Linked DNA regions of Homo sapiens: region 2 is linked to region 1. The links are contacts of gene promoters, found by promoter capture Hi-C in blood cells and fetal thymus (Javierre and others, 2016). All regions are on one chromosome and are shown on one strand. Each heading gives the region's core, a stretch centred on a gene start or on the middle of the fragment in contact. The rest is flanking DNA. Distances are from core to core; before and after follow the strand shown. Region 1 holds the start of PRRX2 (paired related homeobox 2). Region 2 has its middle 15 kb from the start of IER5L.

The links. The method cuts DNA at HindIII sites, captures the fragments that hold promoters and counts their contacts. A CHiCAGO score of 5 or more calls a contact.
Region 2: a fragment that was not itself captured here is called in contact with the fragment with the promoter of PRRX2 in region 1 in 6 of 17 cell types (naive CD8 T cells, activated CD4 T cells, total CD8 T cells and 3 more); the score reaches 12.0 in naive CD8 T cells.

Annotation. Positions count from the first base shown.
Region 1 is chr9:129,663,669-129,669,699 of GRCh38, reverse strand. It overlaps PRRX2 (paired related homeobox 2), which reads right to left and starts at 4,053. Exons shown (of 4, transcript NM_016307.4): 1 at 3,574-4,053. The coding sequence starts at 3,832. RefSeq lists enhancers at 1-40, 41-542. The HindIII fragment of the contact is 25,989 bases long and covers 1-6,031 here.
Region 2 is chr9:129,160,392-129,166,795 of GRCh38, reverse strand. No RefSeq gene overlaps it. Among named protein-coding and RNA genes, the nearest start is that of IER5L, 15 kb to the left of the region's middle. The HindIII fragment of the contact is 562 bases long and covers 2,100-2,661 here.

The sequences.
Region 1 (6,031 bases), core at 2,804-5,303:
GAGGGCTCCCACCTCACCCTGCCTTGCCCCGTGCCTTAGATGCAAGCACTTCATCTTCCGAAATCTCTGGAAAATGAATCCACGTGGGATCCCAAGGTTTCTCCTGCAGTGAATCCTGGGGTTTTCCAAAGCAGGTACCAGCCCTGAGCACTGGCCGCCCAGCCTTCCCTGGCCAGAGGCCTCACCCCTGCCTGGCTCTAGGGGCTTTGTTTATTTTCCCAGTGTGTCCACGTCCCCGTTTCCACTCTGCCCACAGGAGGGAATGCTTTAGAGAAAATCTCAGTTATTAATGTGGTTTCTTTTGTTGTAAGTCATTGCAAAGGCAGCAAACCAGGGTTTGTTTTCCTAACGTGCCTGGTGCAGCCCTCAGCGTTTGACTGGCGAGGAAGGAACCCGCGACCCTGGTTTGTTCTGAGTCACTGGCGAAGCCACGGTCTTCCCGGCCATTTCTGGAGGGAGCCTGGTCTTAGAAAGTCATTGGCAGTAGCGGGCTTTATCTACTGGTGGCTTTGTGCAAACAAAAATTTTTAAATTAAAAAAAGTTTGAGCCTGCTATCCCAGCAGATTGAAGACGTATTAATTCCTAACTCATTGGTGTCCCCCATTAACCCTTATTTTTCTTTCTTTCTTTCTTTTTTTTTTCTCCTGCCTCAGCCTCCCGAGTAGCTGGGATTATAGGCGTCTGTCACCACACCTGACTAATTTGTGTAGTTTTAGTAGAGATGCAGTTTCACTATCTTGGCCAGGCTGGTCTTGAACTCCTGACCTTGTGATCCAACTGCCTCAGCCTCCCAAAGTGCTGGGATTACAGGTGTGAGCCACTGCACCTGGCTAACCCTTATTTTTCTAATGGGGGCACTCCCTCTTTGGTGCCATCTCTTTCTTTTCTTTTCTTTCTTTCTTTTTTTTTTTTTTTTTTTTGAGATGGAGTCTCATTCTGTTGCCCAGGCTGGAGTGTGCAGTGGTGCAATCTTGGCTCACTGCAACCTCCGCCTCCCGGGTTCAAGGGATTCTCCTGTCTCAGCTTCTCCAGTAGCTGAGATTACAGGCATGCACCACCACACCCGGCTAATTTTGTATTTTTAGTAGAGATGGGGTTTCACCATGTTAGCCAGACTTGTCTCAAACTCCTGACCTCTAGTGATCCAACCACCTCAGCCTCCCAAAGCACTGGGGTTACAGGTGTGAGCCACCGCCCCCGGCCAGACCATCTTTCTTTGGACCTGAAAACAACTCCAAGAGCCACAGGAAAACCCACCTCCAAGCATGTCTGGATCCGTGGTGAGGGGACCGGGCTCCTGTATGTCCAGGACTGGAGGATGATGCCGCAACCCAAGACTCAGCCCACTGGCCTGGGGTCTGCAGTCCCGGCAAGCCCAGCAAGGTTTGGCTGCCCACTTTCAAAGGGTCGATGATGGGGAAAGAAGGATCCCATCTCCCCCACCTTTGGAGCCTTCAGGACTTGGGAGTCCACAGCAAGTGGCAGTGGTGGGGCCGCCTGACCCAGATGGATGAGTTGGAAACTGGCGCCTGCCCTGCAGTCCCCTCTCTCCACCTTCTGCCTGTAGACCCAGATCCGGGCCACACCCCGGGCGGAGCCCAGGGACTCTCCCTGCCAGGGCTCCATCGTCCTCAGGGCAGAGCTAGGCAGCTTCCAAGACGGACCAGCCCACGAGCGCCTCCTGGAGCCTGGCCCAGACCCCACCCCACCTGATCCCACACCCAGTGTGTCCCAAGCATGCCTGGGTACTCCCAGTGTGCCAATGCCCCTTCTTAGGAGAAGGCCTGGAGGCCTCATGGGCTCTCCAGGAGGGTGGCTAGCCCCAGGGAGCTGCTGGGGAGACCCACTGCACACCCAGCTGCCTGGAGGCTGCCAAGGGCCTTGTCTAGGCGCCCACATCCCCAGCTGACACTAGCTGTTCTGGGATCCCCGGGGAAACCCGCCACCAGAGACCTCCAACACCGTGTCCGGGAGAAGCACGGCCTTCCCTGGCTGTCCCCACAGCAGGGGTAGGTCAGAAATGGGCAGGCCGTCCCCTGGCCAGGACTGGAGTACGAGACACCCTGGCCCCCTTCCTTCCCTCCTCACCCCTCTCTCCTCTCCCTTCCTTCCTCTTCCTCTGTCTCTCCTCCCTCTCTCTCTCCTTTCCTTGCCTTCTCCTTTCCTTCTTTCCCTTCACCTTCAAGTTGTTCCTCCTTCTCTTCCCAACCCCTGGAGTCTCCCTTCATCAGGGTAAACCGGGACCTCTCCTCTGTCCTGGGGTTGGGGGACCGGCTCAGAGCCGCTGAGGTCCTCAAATGACCTTGGGCCGGCAGGGCATTCCCCCAGCACAAACCAGAGGGCACCTGCTTTCCTCCGGGCCAGAGTGGACATCTCCCTCCCCTTTTCTACTGAGGAGCTAAACCCCAACTCCTGGGAGGTCTGCTGGCTTCACACTCACCCCGGAGGGTGCAGCCAGTGGCCAGTCCACTGTGGCCAGTGAGTGGTGGCCGCTGCCATGAGGGAGCCAGTGGCTTCATCTCAGCCACAGGCTGGCAGAAGGTGCCCCGTGAAAGGCAGGCGTGTCGCAGGCGTCCTCGTGGACGCACATGGATTCAGACTAGGCTGCAGCCACCTCTGTTTTCCCTGCACCTCCTGTCTCTGAAAAGCCAAGGAACGCAGCCACCAGCCTGGGCACCCTGAGACCTGGAGGCTGGTGCCGGGAACAGGGTCCCCCGGGGCGGGTGGGAGGGCTGCTGGAGTCAGGCGGGCACACTTCAGGGGCCCAGAGCCCCCAGCAGGCCGGCCCATCCCCAGAGCTAGGGGACAGGGGCCTGGTTTCAGATCACCGGGCCCCCATCCTTAGTGTGTGCTGAGCCGCGAGGACTCCGGTCCTCCCCTCCCCCACTGAACCGTCCGGGGCTGGGGCCTTTGCTTTTTCTCCATCTTCTCCCCGTCCCTCCCCTTCTTACCAAGGGCTCAGGACCCTGCCATCCTGTGTCACTTTTTGAAAAAGGCCACTTGGGTGGGTTGTTTGTTTTTAAAGCCCCTTCCTGATGACCTTTGACCTCTGCCGGGGAAGAGAGGCCTGGCTGGGCCGTTCCACCGAGGCAGCTGCTCCCGGGGCAAACTGGAGGGTGGGGGGGGGTGGGCAGGCACCCTCGCCCCCCAAAGAGCCCAACTTAAGACCGAGGAGGAGCTGGGGCGGCGCTAGCTCGTGCGGGAGGGGGCGGGTTTGAAACCCCAACGTGCAGCTCAGCGGCTTTGCCCGACTCAGGTCTCTGTTTCCCCAGTTGTAACCCGGCAGCAGCCACACCCACTTCCCAGGCTGTTCGGGAGCCGAATACTGGGGAGCGAAGGCAGCGCACTTCCCCGTGGGGACGCACCCCAAGACCCGAAGAGGGTCCCCCTCCCCCAGCCCAGAGTGCTGGTCAACCGCCGTCCACCGTCACTTACACGCGCCCCCAGAAGTCCTGCCGCCGACCACGCGCCCTGCATCTTCGCCCGCCCCGCGCCGGCTCCCCGGACCCCGCGCCCCGGCCCCGGCCCCGGCCCCGGCCCCGCCACCCCCGTCCCTGGCCGGCCGTACTCACCATCCTGCGGCGCCGCCTCGCTGCCGCTGCTGCCCCCGGACGGCTCCCGTGCTGCGCCCTCCCGCGCCTCGGCCCTGGCCCCGGGGCGCGCCGCCAGCCGCCCGGCCGCCGCCACCTCTTCCAGGTCCAGGAGGTGGCTCACCGAGAAGTTCTTGCGCGCCTGGGCGCAGTCGCCGGGCCCCAGCGCGGGTGGAGGCGGCGGCGGCCCCGGGCCCAGCGCCGGCTTGTCCAGGGCGAAGGCGGCGGCCGCGCTGTCCATGCCCGCGAGCGGCCCCGGGGGGGCCGGCGGGGGTCTCGGGCTCGGGTCCCAGGAAGGGTCGCGGGCGCGGGTCGGAGCGAGAGCCCCGGCCGCCCCGCGCTCTGCCCAGCTCCCGCCGCCTCCTAGCCTCGCGGCCCGCCCGGCGCTGACGTCGGGGAAACAAACTTTCCGCCCTCCCCTTCTCAGCCACGGCCGCTCGCTCCGGAGCCGCTGGTGCACGCGCTGCGCCGGCCACACGCCCCTTCTTGAAGCAAACCTCGCCCCCCGTCCTCTCCTCCGCCCTCTCCTCCCCGCGCGCCTCGCCCGCCCCCACCCCGGCTGCTGGCGCTGGGGGCGGGGAAGGGGTGTCCTCCCTTCACCCTCCCCACCCACTTTTTAGGGAGTGGGAGGTTCCGTGTTTTGTCGTTTTCCATCCCCCAAGTATCTGGGAGGTGATGGCAGAGGGATTCCCCCCTTCCCTTTACAATCGCCTCCGCAGGTGGAGGGGGCGGCCCAGAGACGAAGGCGACGAGCCCCCCACTCCCAGCTCCAGCCTCACTCGCCTCAGCGCCCCCAACAACGGCCCCGCCCGCCCGCGCTGGCCGACAGAGCTCTGTGCACACCACCCGCCCCAAGGCTGTCTCTCCCAGCAGGCAGCGCATCCTCAGGCTCCTGGGGTGTACGCGACCCCCCACCCCGCCTCTCCCCCGCTGCTCCCTGCCAGGTCCCCCACACACACCCACACACCCGGTGCCCACCCCCCAGGAGGCCCCAGGCCCTTCCCCAAGGAAAACCAAGCGGAGAGGCAGGCGCTTCGTTGCAGAATTCCTGGCGCACACACAGAGGACAGCCAGCCTGAGACGGGTGACAGGAAAGAGAGAGGCAGACTTAGGTGTCCGCTCTTGTTTCAGTTTTGTTTTTCAATGAAAGCACAGAAAAGATGTGCGGAGTGAGCAGACCTGAGACCCTAAGCCCCCCGGATGCCACTGCTCTTTCTCCAGGACAGCCGCTCACCGGCCCGTCCCTCTGTCGCCCTGCCCTCACTACGAGGCATAAAGTCACATCAGCCAAAGTCGCCTACCGGAGGAAGCCTTCAGCACATCCTTTCCCTGTTCCCATATGGAAAACCGGCCCGCACACATCCCTGAAAGCCTGCGGACCATTATTTTTATTTATTATTTATTATTATTATTTATTTTTATTTTTTTGAGACAAGAGTCTGGCTCTGTCGCCCAGGCTGGAGTGCAGTGTCGTGATCTCGGCTCGCTGCAACCTCCGCCTCCTGACTTCAAGCGCTTCTCCTGCCTCAGCCTCTCGAGTAGCTGGGATTACAGGTGTGCATCACCATGCCCGGGTAATTTTTGTATTTTTAGTAGAGGAGGGGTTTCACCATGTTGGCCAGTCTGGTTTCCAGCGTCTGACCTCAGGTGATCCACCTGCCTCGGCCTCCCACAGTGCTGGGATTACAGGCGTGAGCCACCGCACCCAGCCGGGAACACTATTTTTAAGGAAAGCCTAGCAATACATTATAATACATTAATCCTCACAGCGTGTGTTGTTTGTGTCCGCCCCCACCCCCTCCCGCGCTGGAAAGGAATCGACTTCAAAATGAGGCCGAGTAGGCCGGGCACAGTGGCTCACGCCTGTAATCCCAGCACTGTGGAAGGCTGAGGTGGGTGGATCACCTGAGGTCAGGAGTTCGAGACCAGCCTGGCTAACATGGTGAAACCCTGTCTCTACTAAAAATAATAATAATAAAAAAAATTAGCTGGGCATGGTGGCAGGCGCCTGTAATCCCAGCTACTGGGGAGGTTGAGGCAGGAGAATAGCTGGAACCTGGGAGGCGGAGGTTGCAGTGAGCCGAAATCACGCCATTGCACTCCAGCCTGGGCAACAAGAGTGAAACTCCATCTCAAAAAATATATATAAATTAAATTAAATAAGAAATAATAATTTAAAAAATGAGGCCGAGTGTCCCTGAAGTGTCTTTAGCCACAGCAATCCGTGCAGGTGCACACATGGGTAGGGAGGGTTTGGAGATGACGGGGTTCTCCGTCCTTGGACCTCTGCTCCAAGGAGTGTCCAGCAAGAAAGGCCAGCAAAGAGGCGCCAGTCTCCCTCATCCTAGGCGGCTGGGAGGAGCCCAGTCTGGGCACCAGGGCATACCCAGTGCTGCCCACAGTGTGTGTGGCTGAACCACTTTCTGAGGAACCGAGCAGG
Region 2 (6,404 bases), core at 1,131-3,630, 500 kb after region 1:
GCTCAAGACAAACCATGCTCTGCTGCTTTTTTTTTTCTTTTTTTTTTTTTTGAGACACAGTTTTGCTCTTGTTGCCCAGGATCTCAGCTCACCGAAACCTCCGCCTCCCAGGTTCAAGCAATTCTACTGCCTGAGCCTCCTGAGTCCCGAGTAGCTGGGATTACAGGCATGCGCCACCACACCCGGCTAATTTTGTATTTTTAGTAGAGACGGGGTTTCTGCATGTTGGTCAGGCTGGTCTCAAACTCCCGACCTCAGGTGATCCACCCGCCTCGGCGTCCCAAACTGCTGGGATTACAGGGGTAAGCCACCACGCCTGGCCAGCTCTGCTGCTTTCTAGGTGACAATAAGCTCTTTCCTTCACCTCCCTGAGCCTCCAGTCCCTTGTCTGCAAAATGAAGACATGCATGGGGGCACCTGCCTGTGCAGTAAGGCTGCTACAGCTCAGAGTCTGACATACAGTGAGTGCCCAGTAAATGAGAGCTGCAATATTGGCACTGGTCAGCTCTGCCCAGATAACTTTTCATTGCAAAATGCATGACAGTTTTCCTACTGACTCTCCTGTTGAACAAAATTATGACTTAACAGGCCAGGCGTAGTGGCTCACACCTGTAATCCCAGCACTTTGGGAGGCCGAGGCTGGAGGATCCCTTGAGTCCAGAAGTCTAAGACCAGCTTGCGCAACATAGTGAAACTCCGTCTCAACAAAAAATACAAAAATTACACTTTGGGAGGCCGAGGCGGGCGGATCACAAGGTCAGGGGTTTGAGACCAGACTGGCCAATATAGCGAAACCCCGTGTCTACTAAAAATACAAAAAATGAGATGGGCATGGTGGCAGGCACCCGTAATCCCAGCTACTTGGGAGGCTGATGCAGGAGAATCGCTTGAACATGGGAGGCAGAGGTTGCAGTGAGCTGAGATCATGCCACTGCACTCCAACCCAGGCGACAGTGCAAGACTCCATCTCAAAAAAAAAAAAAATTAGCCAGGCATGTTGGTGCACACCTATAGTCCCAGCTACTAGGGAGGTTGAGGTTGGAGGATCACTTGAGCCTGGTAGATCTAGGCTACAGTGAGCTGTGATTGTGCCTCTGCACTCCAGCCTGGGAGACAGAGCAAAACCCTGTCTCAAAAGAAAAAAAAGTAACATGCATCTTTTCCAGCGGGACCCAATCAAGATCTTTTTACTCTGGAGTTGGGGGAAGAGACAGGAGGAAGTGCCTTAGAAACTTTGTTGGATTTTTTTGTCTTTCCATAGATTAGGACTCATATTTTTTAAAAGATTAGTCCCCAGGAAGGTGTCTGATTATCTTCAGGACCTGGCTGTGCCTGACAGTCAACATTCACTCAGGATAGATGCTTGATGATTGAATGAATGAATGAAGTGATGGATGAATGAATGAATGAATGAATGGACTCCATTCTAGGGAGTGGCTTAAAGAGGAAACAGTAAGATATTGCTCTGCCTATCCTCCTCCAATCAGACCCTTCCCCACTACCTCTGGGCCTCTGACTCCTCCCCCTTCTGCCCCCCAAATCCAGTTATTTCCTGATGTTTCTTTTTCTTTTTTTGGAGACAGAGTCTCACTCTATTGCCCAGGCTGGAGTGCAATGGCACAATCTTGGCTCACCACAACATCCGCCTCCCAGATTCAAGTGATTCTCCTGCCTCAGCCTCCCAAGTAGCTGGGATTACAGGCTTGCGCCACCACACCCAGCTCATTTTTGTATTTTTAGTAGAGACAGGGTTTCGCCATGTTGGCCAGGCTGGTCTTGAACTCCTGACCTCAGGCAATCCGCCCATCTTGGCCTCCCAAAGTGCTGGGATTACAGGTGTGAGCCACCGTGCCCGGCCTTCCTGATGTTTCTTAAACATTCCATGCATCCTTCCTGCTGTCCTCCCAGCTCCCTGGCACCCTCCAGGCCACTACACACACACACACACATACACACACACACACACACACCACAGAGTGGAAATCCAGTACACACACACACACACACACACACACACCCCCAGTGTGGAAGTCCAGTGTCTCCTTTAACACCCACATCAAACAGCCTGGGGAGAACTGGGAAGACTGGGGAATAAAGCTTCCCTTTGTTCATAAAAAGAAATCCAGGCCTAAGACAGATAAAGGACGTGGCCCCAGAACAGGACAGATCCATGTGGGGAGGGGCAGTGAGACCTCTAGGCAACCTGCAGACATTCCAAGTTGATGGACAGCTCCAAGATTCTTTAAGCCAAGAAAGGGATTCGGGTGTCGAGATTCCTGGGCCTTGGATCCTCTCCTCTCAGGGTCCCATATTGTTCAGGCCTCAGAAACTCAGCTAAAGCTGGCTGAAGCAAAGAGCGGATTTATTTCCTGGCACAGAAACAGGGAAGTCCATGGGTGTTTCGGCTCAGGCGTAGCTGGATCCAGAGGCTCACATGATGTCATCAGGGCTTATTCGTTACCTCTCCTTGGCCTCTTCTTAGGTTTTCTCTGCGGCCAGAACAAGAAGGCCACTGGCCAGGGATCGTGCAGTCACACAGGGCCCCATGTTCAAATGAGCCCATGCTTGGAGTCTAATGCTCTGCTGTCTTGAAATTCAACATCATTTTATCGTTGAGTTTGTGTTGAGTGAAGTCTGAGACAGTGGAGCGTGTTTGAAGCTTCGACTCAGGTGCAGTCCTGTCTCCTGCCACCTCCCCACCTCCCTGAGACAGGTTCTTGGTCCCCCTGCTACCCTGCCCCCTGGCACTCTGGTGCCCTGGCTCTGCCTGGCCTCTCCCTCCCATCCTCGGCAGGGACCTGGGCACAGGCGTAGAGAGGGTTGAGTTCAGGCATCCGTGAGCAGCACCTTGCAGGGCACGGTGACAGCCGCCACTGCTGTGCATTAGCAGCACCACAGCCTGACTGGCAGCCAACCAGAGACCGTGTCTAGACGTGGGGTGAACCTTTCACCTACCCCGATCTGGGTACTGAGGTCCTTAGAGACCACTCCTCTGCTGTAGGTTGAGGTGGGGGCCTGTGGGAAGGGGAGGTACCAGGACTCAGGACATCAGCCCAGTGGTTGGTTGGAAGGTTAATCCAGCAGCTGCCAGGCCCCATCTAGAGAGAGCACGCAGGGAGGCATAGCAGGGGTGGAGGGGGCTGGGAGGGTGTGCACCCTTGTGGCAATCTCCCATACGGAGAAGCACTATCTTAACCACCTTAACCAGGGGGTCTTCTCCTCCCCCTATAACCTTCCTGAGCCTGGCTTGTGTTTGTCTTTTCTGGCCAGTTCAAGGCACACTCAGGGACAAGCCACAGAATATGAATTGTGCAATTTCAGCGATTCTGCACATGAATTAAATGCTCTGGTATTTATATTTATAACTGGTATTACACAGCCAGGCAGAGTGGCTCATGCCTGTAATCCCAGCACTTTGGGAGGTGGGCAGATCACTTGAGGTCAGAAGTTCAATACCAGCCTGGCCAACGTGGTGAAACCCTGTCTCTACTCAAAATACAAAAATTAGCCAGGTGTGGTGGCACACACTTGTAATCCCAGCTACTCAGGAGGCTGAGGCACGAGAATTGCTTGAACTTGGGAGGCAGAGGTTGCAGCGAGCCGAGATTGGCCACTGCACCCCAGCCTGAGTGACAGGGAGAGAGGCTCCATCTTAAAATAAATAAATAAATAAATATAAATAAAACTGGTATTACGCAATATAAAGATGAATGGTAAAATTCATGCTAATTATTTACAATAATTACACCTTTCTAAGTACACCTTTCTGTACTTAGAATGACATTGAATAGAAAATTTAAAATGCCATGACAAGTTGAGAGATGGTGGAAGGAAGCGTTCTATGGACCCTTCGTGGCACTTTTTCCTGCTTTTTGAGCAAGGGGCCCTGCATTTTCATGTTGTATCGCACCCCACAGATCCTGTACCTGGCCTTGCCACTGGCATCCCCAGGATGGCATCTTCCCAGCTTAGCAGCCCTGGCACAGGGCATCTTCCCACCTGATCTAACAGAGGGCATTGGGGATGATCCTCATTGGCACAGCCAGGTCACAAGCTCATCCCAGAACCAATCACAGTGCACAGGAAAGCAGGGCCCCTGTGATTGGCCAGGTCTGGGCATGTGTCCACCCCTGAGTAGGGGGCTGACCGGCCCCACCTCAACCCTTTCTCGTGGCTTCTCCATTGGGAAGAAGGTTCTGTTGCCAGAGGAGAGGGCGCTGCACAGCCACAGGCCGCCACTGTGCGTCTTGTACACACACCTCTCGTGCTTGGTGTGAAAAAATAAAAAATGTAGATACCAGCTGGAGGAGAGACGCAATGTAGTTCCTCTCTTCCGGCTCATAGTTCCCAGTCTCCCTTCCTCTAAATGCCGGCGAGTCCCAGGGCTCAGGCCTTGGCCCCTTCTCCCTTCCTGCCACCTTCTCCTGGTCCCTTCAACCCACTGACAATTCTCTCCAGCCAGGACCTCCGTGCCGAATGCAAGTCAAGGGTCCCACCATGTTTGGCCTCTACTCTTGGGATACTGACATCTAAGAACTCGTCTGTCTGGGCCTTTCAAACCCCGGAGAGACACCTACAACCTCTGCTTCTCCCCGCCATTGCCCCGTCCCACCATCCAGCAAGTTGTTCAGGCCAAAAACCAGGGCATCGTGACTCCTTTTTTGTTCACAAAGCCAAATCCAGTCCATCAGCAAATCCTCCTTCAGAAGAGATTCACAATCAGGCCAGACACGGCGGCTCACGCCTGTAATTCCAGCACTTCGGGAGGCCAAGACAGGAGGATCACCTGAGGTCAGGAGTTCATGACCAGCCTGGCCAACATGGTGAAACCCCCATCACTACTAATAAATACAAAAATTAGCCAGGCGTGGTTGCGCATGTCTGTAATCTCAGCTCCTCGGGAGGCTGAGGCAGGAGAATCACTTGAATCCAGGAGGCAGAGGCTGCAGTGAGCCGAGATCGCGCCATTGCACTCCAGCCTGGTGACAGACACTCCGTCTCAAAAAAAAAAAAAAAAAAAGAAGAGCTTCACAATCTACCTTAGTACCATTGCTGTTGCTCTCCCAGCCCAGCCACACCACCTCCCTCCTGGACTAGTGCACTAACCTCCCTGCAGATCTCCCTGGTCTTCCTGTGTTCGCGCTTGCCCTCCTACTGGCCGTTCTCCTCCTCTCCACTCCCGTACATGCGAACATGTTGAAGTCGAATCATAGCTCTCCCCATCTCAAACCTTCCCAGTAGTGTAAATGTTTAAAACCAGCTGGTGGGTGGAGCTCACTTGAAGAATTTGCCAATTCCTGTGGTGTAAACACTCCCATTTTGGCCAATTCCTAGCTACCATGTGACATCGCTGAACATGGAGAGGGAGAGGAATGTGCACAGTCAGCTCTCGCAAGCCAGTGTGAGCACACCACTGCCCCCACTCCACTCAGAACAAAACACAGGCCGGGCGCAGCGGCTCATGCCTGTCATCCCAGCACTTTGGGAGGCAAAGGCGGGAGGATCACTTGATCCCAGGAGTTTGAGACCAGCCTGGGCAACATAAGGAGACCCTGTCTCTACCAAAAATAAAAGCCTAGCTGGGTGTGGTGGCGCATGCCTGTAGTCCCAGCTGCTCAGGAGGCTGAGGTGGGAGGATCACTTGGACCTGGGAGGTCAAGGTTGCAGTAAGCCATGATTGCACCACTGCACTCCAGCCTGGGCGACAGAGTGAGACCCTGTCTCAAAAAAAAAAAAAAGAGAGAGAGAGAGAGAAGGAGGGAGGGCAAGTGGGAAGGTAGAAAAGGAAGGAAGGAAAGGAAAGAAGAGAAGGGGAGAGAAGGGGAGGGGAGAGGGAGGGGGAAGAAAGGAAGGAAGCGAGGGAGGGAGAAAAGGAGGGAGAAAGGGAGAGAAAACAGGAAGGGCAAGCAAGGCAAACAGAGTCCTTACTATGGCCTCTGCAAGGCCCTGCTGAGCCAGCCCGCTGCCTCTCCACTCATCCCCACCCCTCCCCATCACTCAATGCCCTGTAGCCTCCTCCTTGCTGTTCCCCAAGTGTCAAAGCTGTTCCCACCTCAGGGCCTTGGTACTTGCTGTTCCCTCTGCCGGGAATGCTCTCTCAGCTCCTTTCAGGGTAATCTCTGTCACGAACTGAGGTCTCTGTTCAAGTGCCACCCTCACTACCCCCTTCAAAATAATATTTCTCTATCACAATTACCCTTGTTTCATAGACTTTATCGCTGCCCAGTATTTTGCTGTATATTTATTTGTCTATCGTCCTCACTAGACGCAAATTTTACAAGGGCAGGAAATTCACCAGTTCACCCCTCTGTCCCCAGCACCTGGAGGGAATGGCGCATGGAAGGAACCCACTTCTGGTCGGGCACAGTGGCTCACTGTGCTTGTAATCCCAGCACTTTGAGAGG